Linked DNA regions of Homo sapiens: region 2 is linked to region 1. Evidence: promoter capture Hi-C in 16 types of primary human blood cells and fetal thymus (Javierre and others, 2016). All regions are on one chromosome and are shown on one strand. The core of a region is centred on a gene start or on the middle of the fragment in contact, and the rest is flanking DNA. Distances in the headings are between cores, read along the strand shown.

The links. Contacts are between HindIII fragments. The CHiCAGO score rates a contact against its expected background, and 5 or more counts as called.
Region 2: a fragment that was not itself captured here is called in contact with the fragment with the promoter of RELN in region 1 in 1 of 17 cell types (total CD8 T cells); the score reaches 5.7 in total CD8 T cells.

The regions. Positions count from the first base shown.
Region 1 is chr7:103,986,714-103,992,472 of GRCh38, forward strand. It overlaps RELN (reelin), which reads right to left and starts at 2,945. Exons shown (of 65, transcript NM_005045.4): 1 at 2,418-2,945. The coding sequence starts at 2,643. The HindIII fragment of the contact is 6,896 bases long and covers 791-5,759 here.
Region 2 is chr7:104,752,970-104,758,728 of GRCh38, forward strand. The region is part of intron 2 of LHFPL3 (LHFPL tetraspan subfamily member 3); the gene reads left to right. Among named protein-coding and RNA genes, the nearest start is that of LHFPL3-AS1, 48 kb to the right of the region's middle. The HindIII fragment of the contact is 1,708 bases long and covers 1,558-3,265 here.

The DNA.
Region 1 (5,759 bases), core at 1,695-4,194:
CATAAATGTGACTGATTTTTTCTGATATAACTGTTACACTTTAAAGATCCAGAAGGTTAGAAATAAAGTCTCAAGCTAACATTTTACACATTTCTTGTAAGTTTAAGAAGACTTCTTGGGCAAAAGACCTTTCATTTTGGTCACATATCAAAATGGGCCAACCACAAAAGTACATGAGATTAAGTTTTCCTATTGGCAGTTCAATTCTAACAGAAGCTGTGTGTGTGTGTGTGTGTGTGTGTGTGTGTGTGTGTGTGTGTCTGAATTTTTTAAATTAATTTTCAAAAGCCTAAAAGGAAAAGAGACATACATAAGCATCACTTCATTTTTAAACATGTATTCTACCTGTAGAACATTTTACAAAAAAAAAAAAAAAAACTCTTACTTTAAGGCCTATAGCTACAGCTAGTTCCAAAATCTAAATGTTTAATAAAATAGATAACAGAAATTTAAAATCTGACACAATTCTCAAAGCTTATAATAATTTGACCTTTCATAACTTACATAATACAATTTCTCTACCTTTTCTGGTGGTGGAAAAGAGGTGGAAATTGAGATTCTCCTCCGCAATGTCCAACTTGAAGTATTTACACTTTATTTCTACTCTATGTTATCCATTCCTTTTCAGACTTAGATATGTGATTATGGTGAGTCTTAAGGTGACTTGCATTTGCTATTCAAGGGTGCAAGGGAGCAAAACCAAAGGGTGTATGATATTTTGGTGTTTTTAGTTAAGTTTTCAATATCGAGACCTTCCAAAGGATGTGGAAAACAGAAAAAATAATAATAAAGCTTTGTATCATCACATGGTCTTCCATCATAACCTGACAGTCACGCCTTTGAGACCAGCCTCACTCACTTACCCACCGTTCTCACTGAGAGATCATACCGGGCAAGAACTTTTGCTAAGAGTCGCACGGAGCAGCAGGCTGTCAATCAGGCTTTGGGTTAGGTCTGGTTGCCATCACAGTAGCTGCTCCTTCCACTTAAAGATTCTCATTATCTCAGAAAAGCACTAGATTGTTCTTGGGAAGAGGGCGTAGTAAGCACTTTTATCTAAAAAGGGACTAGTTACAGAACATTAATTTTCCAAAATTATTTCTAAAATTCCACCAAATTAAACTTCTGCTTTACAGACAAGGCTGCCACCATGCCACAAGGAAGTTGTAAAAGCACTGTTTAAAACCTCTAGGAGACGTTTATTTAGGCTAAATATTTTATAATAGATATCAAGGTTTTTTTAAAAACAGAAAAATCTTAAGGATTCTTACAATTTTTAAATGCTTGTCTATCTTAAGTGCTAGCACCCCGTAGATTATCTCCCGCCATGCCAATGATTGTTAGCCTATTAGAGATAGAAACTATTAACAGGAGCCTACTGGACAATGGTTTCTATTTGGTTGGGTATAAATATTTTGGGGTTGAAATTCTAATTAAATAGTGCCTGTCGCTGCTTAAAAGCTCTATAGGCATGAAATGTTCAGAAGTCCCAGAAGAAATACAGAAAAGAGACATTTTTTATTTTTCCACATACTCGATGTACTAGCTTAAAATACATGTACTACATAATATTATATTTCTTGGAGCTAAATTTTATTTCTTCTGTAATGTTTATTTTTGATGCAGGGCTGCATAATGATTCCATTTTTAAGATACCTCTAAATTATAAGGGATTCCAGCCTCTACCTGGAAATTAAAGCTGTGCAGATAAAATACAAAGTCATTAATAAACATCACAAAGATAATTCTAACAAGAAGCACCATGTAAAAGTAAGGCAGGAATCAGAAAAATCATCAATTACTGACATATTAAATCACACTTTCAAAAGAATAGGGAGCTGGAAGCAGCCGCTCCCTTTCAGGAGGGCTGTATGACACTGAATGAAATGCCAGGGACTCCTGGCTGGTGAGCAGCGGGAACTTTGCGGTCGAGCGGCGCGGGGCAGCCACAGACCTGGGCGCTTCAATCTGTCACCAGCCTGCCCGCAAAGCCCAGCGACAGCCCCCAACGCCCCCCCGGGGACCCATCTGGGGGGACCGGGAGCAGGACAAAGGTCTGAAATCCAAGTCCTAGGAGTAAAGAAACAAAATGCGCAGGTTCAATTTAAAGTGCCTGCGGTAAGTACGGGGAGTGAGGGGGAAAGACACCGGCCTCCAAGAATTCTCAGGCGTTTAGCACAAGCACCAGCTCATTACCAGGAGATGCGTTCGGGGAGTGGGGACATGGAGAATGAATCCCAACTTGTGACTCCATTCTCCACTAACTTTATTCTCGCTCCCTGGACCAAGCGCATCGCTGGGGCCAGGGTTGTCATGGTTCTTGTTTCCAAGGCCCCTTGGAAGAAGGAAAGGGATGAGAAAGGTGCGCTGGCGGGCGCACCCGGCGGCGGCGAGCGCGGAGGTGCTGCGGTACCTACCATGGTATTCTTGTCCCGGAACGTAGTAGGTGGGGTTGCCCGCAATATGCAGGGAAATGAGCACCTCGCCCTGCTCCCCATCCCCTTCCAGCTCCCCGTGGTGGGTGCACAGGAAAAAGAAGGGCGAAAAGCGGGGGTAATAGCCAGCCGCCGCGCGCGCCCTCAGCGTCGCCCCCAGCAACAGCGCTAGGAGGAAAGTCTGCCGGGCCCAGCCACTGCGCTCCATGCCGCCGCCGCCGCCGCCGCCGCCGCGCGCCCTACGCGCCGCTCGCTCATTCAGTTTTGGAGACGCCGGGACGGAGGAGCCACGCGGAGAGAAGGCGAGAAGAAGGCGGACGGGAGCGGAACGGGCTCGGGAGCGGGCCTGGGAGCGGGCCCCCGCCGAGAAGTTCCGCGGGAGACGGCGGCTCCCAAAGTTACTTTGGGCCGCGGGAGCGCGGGACCGGGGCTGCGGGCGCCGAGAGCGCGTCGTCTGCCGCCTCCGTGCGCCGCCGCCGCCTCTGCGCGACGCCCCTCGGCCAGGCCTGGGAAAGCGCCCGCCCCGCTCCACACCTTCTTAAAGCCCCGGGCGCCGCGTCCCCCCCGCCGCCGCCACACGTGTCCCGGCCGCTCCCCCGCCCCCGCGCGCCGCCCCGCCCGCCCCCCGCCCTCTCGGGCTGGCTCGGCGGCACCTCGCGCGGCGAGGGGCGCACGCGTCCCCGGAGTCCCCGGCCAGCGCCCGGTTCGCACCCGGGAGGACAGGGAGGGGCGCCCGCCGGGGAGCGGGACGGGGACGCTGTCGAGGACCGCTGAGCCCGCGACTCTTCTGCGAGGGACGTCAAAGCCCCGCAGAGGGCACCTCCCGTCCAGCTGTCTGAAGGGGAAGGCCAGCCCCTTTGGCCGTCAGTGTGCCCTGTTTTTCCTGGGAGGATGCGTGAGGGAAGGAGAGGGGCGGCAGGGACGGCCGCTGGCGCCGGTTTCTTTGTCTGAGCCGGCTGCGTCCCGCGCCCCTCGGGGCTCGCAGTCTGCCAGTCCGGGCGGCCCGCACTCGTTCTGGGAATCCGCCCGAGGCCGCGAACCGCTAGGGGCCCTCGCGCTCCCTTCCCACCCAGGCCCCCTGTCCCTCCCGCCGCGGCCGCCCGGCCCCTCGCGGCAGCGACAGAGCCTCATCTGTAGAGGATTTTAAAATGAGATTAAGCGAAAGTGGAATTGGCAGACTCGAGTGGTGCCTGGAAATGGTGATTTGTGCTGCTCGGTTGTGGGGAATTGTAAGGCAGGAAGGGCTGGCGGAGCTAAGATCCGACAGGCTCTCTTCGCCGGACTGTTCTGTTATTCATTGCTTCTGGGCTCTTCAGGCAGAGATGGGTGTTGTAATTTTTTAAATCAGTGTTTATTTCCTTTAAATGTCGGTTATGACCAATGGCCCTGAAATCGGGGGAGGGAAAAACGTTCAGGGGAGATGCTGGCAGCGGTGATTGAAGCGGGTGGTAATGAGCGGCTGCACATGAACTGCAGGGAAGTGAAATAATCCATAAGCACGTTTTTAACCGAGGACGGCTGGCAGGAGCCCTGCGGCATCCGGAGATGGGGGAGCGGGGTTGCCAGGTTTTAATGCCTCTCCCCACCCACCCTTGGCTTGCCACCAAGCCAGATAAACCCGCACGTACAGAAATGAGTAGATTATAAAATTGGAAGGGATAGTGCCTTTGCCTGCATTTGTGGGGCGAGGGGCGGTGAAAATCAGGGTCCAAGGGGAGACCTCTGTAATCACTTCGTTGCAAAAGGAAGAAATTGTTTTTCTTCCTCTTACTGAGACCGAATGACAGGTAGAAAGGGCCCATTTCTAGCTGGCTTCTTGTTTCCCTTACTTCAAAATCCCCAGAGGCTTAACTGCCATATAAATAATATACAGTGTATACATATATGTATGTGCATATATATATATATGATGTGGTAACAATTGCTACACTGTAGCTCTGCGGGGTGCAGGCTGTGGGGCTAGACGTACTTTAGCTTTTTAATCCTAACACCAACTGGAGAGGCAAAAAATATCCCTATTTCACAAGGGAGGAGGCACTCAGAAATGTTGATAACTTGCCCAAAGTCAGTGACAAAGGCTGGATGCAGGGCAGACTGGCTGGCCTCAGAGGCTCTTGTCCTGCACTGCCCTGCCACAGTCGACAGCCCTAGCTGGAGCAGGTGGTGTTGCCCCAAACAGAATTAGGAGATACTCGCCCACAGCTAACAAGGCTGTTACTGCCTTCCTGTCCAGTCATGTGAATATAGCCAAAGACAAAATTAATCACTTGTAGAAAGAATCCAAAACTATTTAATGTTTTTGGCTTACACTTTTAAAATGTTTAGTTACTATGCACTGAGCACCGTCCTAAGTACTATACATACTAACTCCCTTATTCCTCATAACAATACTGTGGGAAAAGTACCATTGATAGCTTCATTTTACTATGATGAAACAGCACAGGGAGGTTAAGTAACTTGTCCAAGGTCACACAGCTAGTGAGTGCTGTGACTTGAACCCAGGCAGTCTGATTTTGACACACTAACCACTGCAAATCGCCTCTAAAGAATGCATGTTGGTGTTGTTAGAGGGATGGGGGAATAATTATTCTTCATCCAGTGTCAGAATACCTCATTTAATCCTTATATTAGCCTGCAAAGTAGGTATAATTATCTTCATTTTTAAAGAGAAGAAAGTTGAGATTCATAGAAGTTAAAGGAGCTTGGGATCAAGTCTGGCCATGCTTGATGCCAAGGTCGCTGCTTAAATAAACTGTCTTTAGTAAGCGCTGACACTTGGTCCAGGACATGATTGGAATTTAATTCATATAAGGTCCTCAATTCCCAGGAAGTCCCCTTCTTTCCATTGTGTAGTGCACTCTCAGAGAAATATTCTTTCTCGTATCTCTCGACATGGCTTTCTTAACATTCAATTTATGTGACCAAGTTTATTTTTCAATCTTCCCCTTTATTGTGCTTCCTTAATTTTTACCACTTTGCTTTGCTATTACATTTGAATAACTTTTATACTGTTAGCCATGAAGCAAGCTCATATTTCTGGCTACAGCCCTGCAGTTGTTCAGTAACAGACACAAAGACTGTTTTTAAATAATGTCCTGAGTGGTGTTGAGCTGGTCAAGAGGGGAGTAAAAGTTGGTACACTCCAGTCTGCAGTCCTTAGAACTAACATGAATACCTTGTAGAGGCTCAAGTTCATATTTGTTTCATCTCTGACACTTTTTTTGATTAGGCCAGTTCAACTAGTCATTAAAAACTTTTAAATAACCTTTAGAAAATCAGAAAAATACATAAATCATATATAAAATCCATTGAACCGAGAGTAGC
Region 2 (5,759 bases), core at 1,162-3,661, 770 kb after region 1:
TATCAACCAAATATTAGGGGTCACTCTTTGTGTTGTACATTCTATGGGTTTTGACAAATGAAATCTTTATTTTTAACAAGCACATTTAAGTAAATGCAATGCAATTAATTTGAGGACCACACTTTAAGCAACACTGCCCCTGGTGATTTATAATCACATTAACACTATGATTATAATGTAACGATACTGAGGCCAACAACAATGGCCAGACCACTATAATAGAACTTTAGAGTTCCTTTCATAAATATCCTGGCAACCTTGAATGCATAAACAGGCTCTATTCCAAAAGTCCACTTCTAAATTGATGTCTTGGAACTCAGATCACAGGCTTTTCACAGAAACAATTGATGTATACAGTGATCAAGTTCTTGGACCTACTCTTTAAAGCTTATTTCACTCATAATATTATAAGGTTATTTTAACAGTCATATTTAAAGGGGAAATAATAGAAATGTAAACCCATAAAGATAATGGACAAAAATGTTTTGAAAATATTTGAGAATTTTTTTTCAATATTCAATATTTGAGAATAGAGGTCAGGGGCCTCTTTTAAACAAAACTTAAAAGGCACAAACAATAAGGCAAAAATATATATTAATTGAAAACATCAAAATAGGACTTCTGTTCATGAGAGACAGCAAACACAAAGACCAGATGATAGATTGGGAGAAGCTATTTGGAATGTTTCTAGCCAATGTATCTAGAATAAGCAAAGGATTCCTCTGAATCAATAAGAAAAAAAAAAGCTCAATTACAAAATGAGCAGATTATGAATAGGTAATTTTTAGAAAAGGAAACTCAAAAACAGAGCCAGCATGTAAAGAAATGCCCAAATAATTGGTAATTAGGTAAATGCAAGTTAAAACAGTGAGTTATCGGTTTGCACCTTTCAGGCTGGCAGAATTTAGACAGGATCATAGGCATAGATTTGCCTTCACGTGCTGCCAGTGGGAGTGCAGACCATTATGAGGAGCAATTTAGTCCAACAGATAAACATTCCCTGTGACATGCCAATTCTGCTCCTGGATTTACACCCAGGAAATTTCTCACTTGGGCCTTAAGGGACCATGTATGAGGATATTCACTAGAGCATTACTTGTGGTGGGGAGTTGGAGGAAATCTGGTTGTTCACTATGGAGGGGTGGATAAAGAATTTGGGATGAGTAGAAACCATGGAGTACTAGGTAGCAGGTAAGAGGCAACAAATTAAATGAACACATAGCGAAGTGTATGGATCTTAAAAACAGAATGCTTAATAAAAAAAAGAAACAGAATAAAATAAGAAATAATTATCACTTAGATAAATTAGAAACAATGTGTACCAAACAACCATCTTCACTGTGCAAAAAATATTCACATAAAAATATATACGTTAATGGTTGCCTATGGAAGGGGAGAAGAATGGCAGTGGAAGAGAGGATGAAGAGGATTCAACAAGAAAGGACAGTGTGGTATAGGGGGAAGAGCACAGGCTTTGTTGTCAGCCTGCCTGGATTAGAGCCTTAGCTTCACTGCTTACTAGCTGTGGATCCTGAGCAAATCATTTGATGACTCTTAAGCTTCTTCGTGTGTAAAATATAGACCATGTTGTCCATCTTACAGTGCCATAGTGAGGTTTAAAACACATAATCCAAGTACGGCACTTAGCTCAGTGCTTAATATATAATTAGTATTCAATAAATGTTAGCAATAATTGCGAAAGAACCCTGGCCTCATGATGCAGATCAATAGTGGGAACAGAAAGCATTGAGAGTAGGAAATAAGGGTTGGGAAAAAGAAAGGATATGAGAGAACTGATTAAGGAACAGGAGGAGCATGGTGATGGTTAATTTTTCCATCTTTCCCATAGGAATCTCTCAGATGGCATCAGCATAGTCTTCTCTCCTTTACTCTCATTTTTTCCCCTTGTTTTCTCTTCTATTTTCCTAGTGCTACAGAAGTTCTCACTTTTTGTCACCAGGTGCTAGGGGGCAGAGTGCGGTTCATCTAAGGAGTAGAGAAGGGGAGGATCCGGGGTCTGCATGAGGAGGAAGAAGGAAGTGGGTCCATTGACTATTTCTGTATACAAACCACCCCAATATTCAGTGGCTTAAAGAGATAATTATTTATTATTCCTCACAAGTCTAGGGATTAGAACATCTAGGCTAGATTTGTCTGGGGGTGGCTTTGCCCCACATGTCTCTCATTTTCTTCCTGGAACTAGCAGACTAGAATGTCTTCCAGGTGATGACACGGCACAGAATAGTCAAGCCCAGCAGCACAAGGACTTCTGGAGTCTCTGCTATGTCACATTTGCTAACATCCCATCAGCCAAAGTAAGTCATGGCTGGACCATATACCCCATACACAGGGGAAAAGCACCACAAAATGACACAACAAAGGACATGGGTACTGGGAAGGGTGTAGAATTGGGGCCACTCATGCAATTCACACAAGGAGTCACATACTTCTCATGATTGACTAGAAAAAGTGAACATAGCCTAGCTGAGGAAGCAGGGAAACTAAATGCTGGATGATGCAAAAAGCAGGTCTAAGCAAGTTCTCTCTGTCTCTCTGTCTGTCTGTCTGTCTCTCTCTCTGTCTCTCTTTCTCTCCCCCAACCCCCAACACCACCACACACACACACACACACAGAGAGAAACACCCACATATATTAATGGAAGAAGCCCCAGTGACTAGTGTAGTATTAGTTTTTTGGTGTTTGTTTGTTGTTTGTTTCTTTGTTTGTTTGTTTGTTTGTTTTGAGATGGAGTTTCACTCTTGTTGCCCAGGCTGGAGTGCAATGGCACAATCTTGGCTCACCACAACCTCTGCCTCCTGGGTTCAAGCGATTATCCTGCCTCAACCTCCTGAGTAGCTGGGATTATAGGCATGCGCCACCACGCCCGGTTAATTTTGTATTTTTAGTAGAGACAGGGTTTCTCCATGTTGGTCAGGCTGGTCTTGAATTCCTGACCTCAGGTGATCCACCTGCCTTGGCCTCCCAAAGTGCTGGGATTACAGGTGTGAGCCACCACACCCAGCCTAGTATTAGTTTTAATAAGCTAGTTGGTAACTAAGGATAAATAAGTCTTGCTATGGGGCCAGGGGTTGGGATGGGGAGTGGGGATGGAGATCTGTCCTTAAGGAAGTAGACAGCTGGATAAATAGTGCTGTTTGGGGACATTGAAAAACACATGCGTGCACACACTCACACTCCACACACTTTCTTCAATCCAAAGCAAATGAGAAGTAAGGACTGAGATTAGTTTACAAGTTTTTATTAAGCTTGTTCCTAATTTTTAACTAGACACACCTTGCACTGAACCTTTGATAGCTTATTATTATAGCCTAATGTTGATGTTCATACTAATATCAACAGCAAGAGTCTGGCATCTATAAAATATAAATACAAAATTGTCAGTTACAATGAAATGAAATTAATATCCAGTCTCTTTTTAGACAAATCTTTTCTCCTAGGATGGGGGAGGATATACTTAAACAATCTGAAATGTGTATCTATATTACATTTTAAGCACGACAATTTTATTTTTATTTATTTATTTATTTTTAGACAGTCTCACTCTGTCACTCAGGCTGAAGTGCAGTGGTGCCCTCTCAGCTCACTGCAACCTCCACCTCCCAGGTTCAAGTGATTCTCGTACCTCAGCCTCCCAAGAAGATGGGATTACAGGCATGCTCCACCACACCTGGCTAATTTTTATATTTTTAGTAGAGATGGGGTTTCACCATGTTGACTAGGCTGGTCTCAAACTCCTGACCTCAATTGATCCACCCACTTCGGCCTCCCAAAATGCTGGGATTACAGGCATCAGCCACTATGCCCAGCCCACAGTGTTACCTTTTAAAGAAGCATTTATTCATTCAGAAAAGCATTATTTGCTTTGAATATTAAGCAGAGATTCTGACAACTTTTTTCACTACTGTGTGCGTAAAATATCTCTTTCACTGATGCTAAAATTAAATTTAAATGTGCCTTTAATATTTTTTAAATGTAACATTGTTGTACCATAGGCCTAGTACCTAGAATGGTGCCCTACAAGTGAGAAAAAAGAAAGTGATAGGGTACCCCAAAATAAAGCTGCACACCTACAACCATCTGATCTTCAACAAAGTAGACAAAAATAAGCAATGAAGAAATGACTCCCTATTTAATAAATAGTGCTGGGATAGCTGGCTAGCAATATGCGGAAGAATCAAACTGGACCCTTATCTTCCACCATATACAAAAATTAATGCAAGGTGGATTAAAGATTTAATTGTAAGGCCTCAAACTATAAAATCTTAAAAGGAAACCTAGGAAATACCATCTGGACATCAGCCTTGGGACATAATTTATAACTAAGTCCTCAAAAGCAATTGCAACAAAAAACAAAAACTGACAAGTGAGACCTAATTAAACTAAAGAACTTTTGCACAGCAAAAGAAACTATCAACAGAATAAACAGACAACCTACAGAATGGGAGAAAATACTTGCAAACTATGCATCCAACAAAGGTTTAATATCCAGAATCCATAAGGCACTTAAACAACTCAACAAACAAAAAACAAATAACTTCATTTAAAAAAAGACATGAACAGACACTTCTCAAAAGAAGACATACAAGTAGACAAAAAACATAGGAAAAAAATACTTACCATCACTAATCATCAGAAAAATGCAAATCTAAACCATAATGAGATATCATCTCACACCAGTCCAAATGGCCATTAATAAAAAGACAAAAAACAACAGAAGCTGGCAAGGCTGTGGAGAAAAAGGAACACTTATACACTTTTGGTGGGAAAGTAAATTAGTTCAGCCACTGTGGAAAGCAGTTTGGAGATTTCTCAAAGAACTAAAAATAGAACTACCATATGACCCAACAATTCCATTACTGGTTAGATACCCAGAGGAAAATAAATTGTTCTACAAAAAAGACATGTGCACTTGTATGTTCATTGCAGCACTATTCACAATAGCAAAGACATGAAATCAACCTAGGTGCCTGTCAGCAGTGAATTGGATAAAGAAAATGTGGTACATATACACCATGGAATACTACACAGCCATAATAGAAGAATGAAATCATGTTCTTTGCAGCAACATGGATCCAGCTGGAGGCCATCATCCTAAGCGAATTAACAGAGGAACAAAAAACCAAATACCACATGTCCTCACTTGCAAATGAGAGGTATATATAGACATAAACATGGGAACAATGGACACTGGGGACTCCTGGAGGAGGGAAAGAAGTGGCAGGCAAAGGGTTGAAAAACTACTTATTGGGTACTATACTCACTACCTGGGTAATCCGCTAGTAGGGATCATTTGTTCCCCAAACCTCAGTATCACATAATATACCCATGTAACAAACCTGCACATGTACCCCCGAATCTAAAATAAAAGTTGCAATTATTAAAATAAAATAAAAATAAAGCTAGCAATGAGCCCTATACATGAAAATCAATAAAACATAATCATGGCTGTATAGAGGGGCTTGTCATTTATAGCAATTTTAGTTCAAGCTGGAATAGGACCGTGTCTCTTTCAGTTCTACCCACTGTGGCTAGCATAGTGCCTGGCATCAAGCAGGTGTCCTATATTTATTTGAATGTAATTAACTGGGAGCTTTCTGCACCCCACCAAAAATATATAAATAAATAAAACTGAAGTGAAAGAATGATATTACTCATGCAATTTTTCAGGCATAGAGTCATCTGTCTACCATCTGGCCCATTCCTCATGTGACTAGTTGTTTTTCTCAGGGAAGCGTCA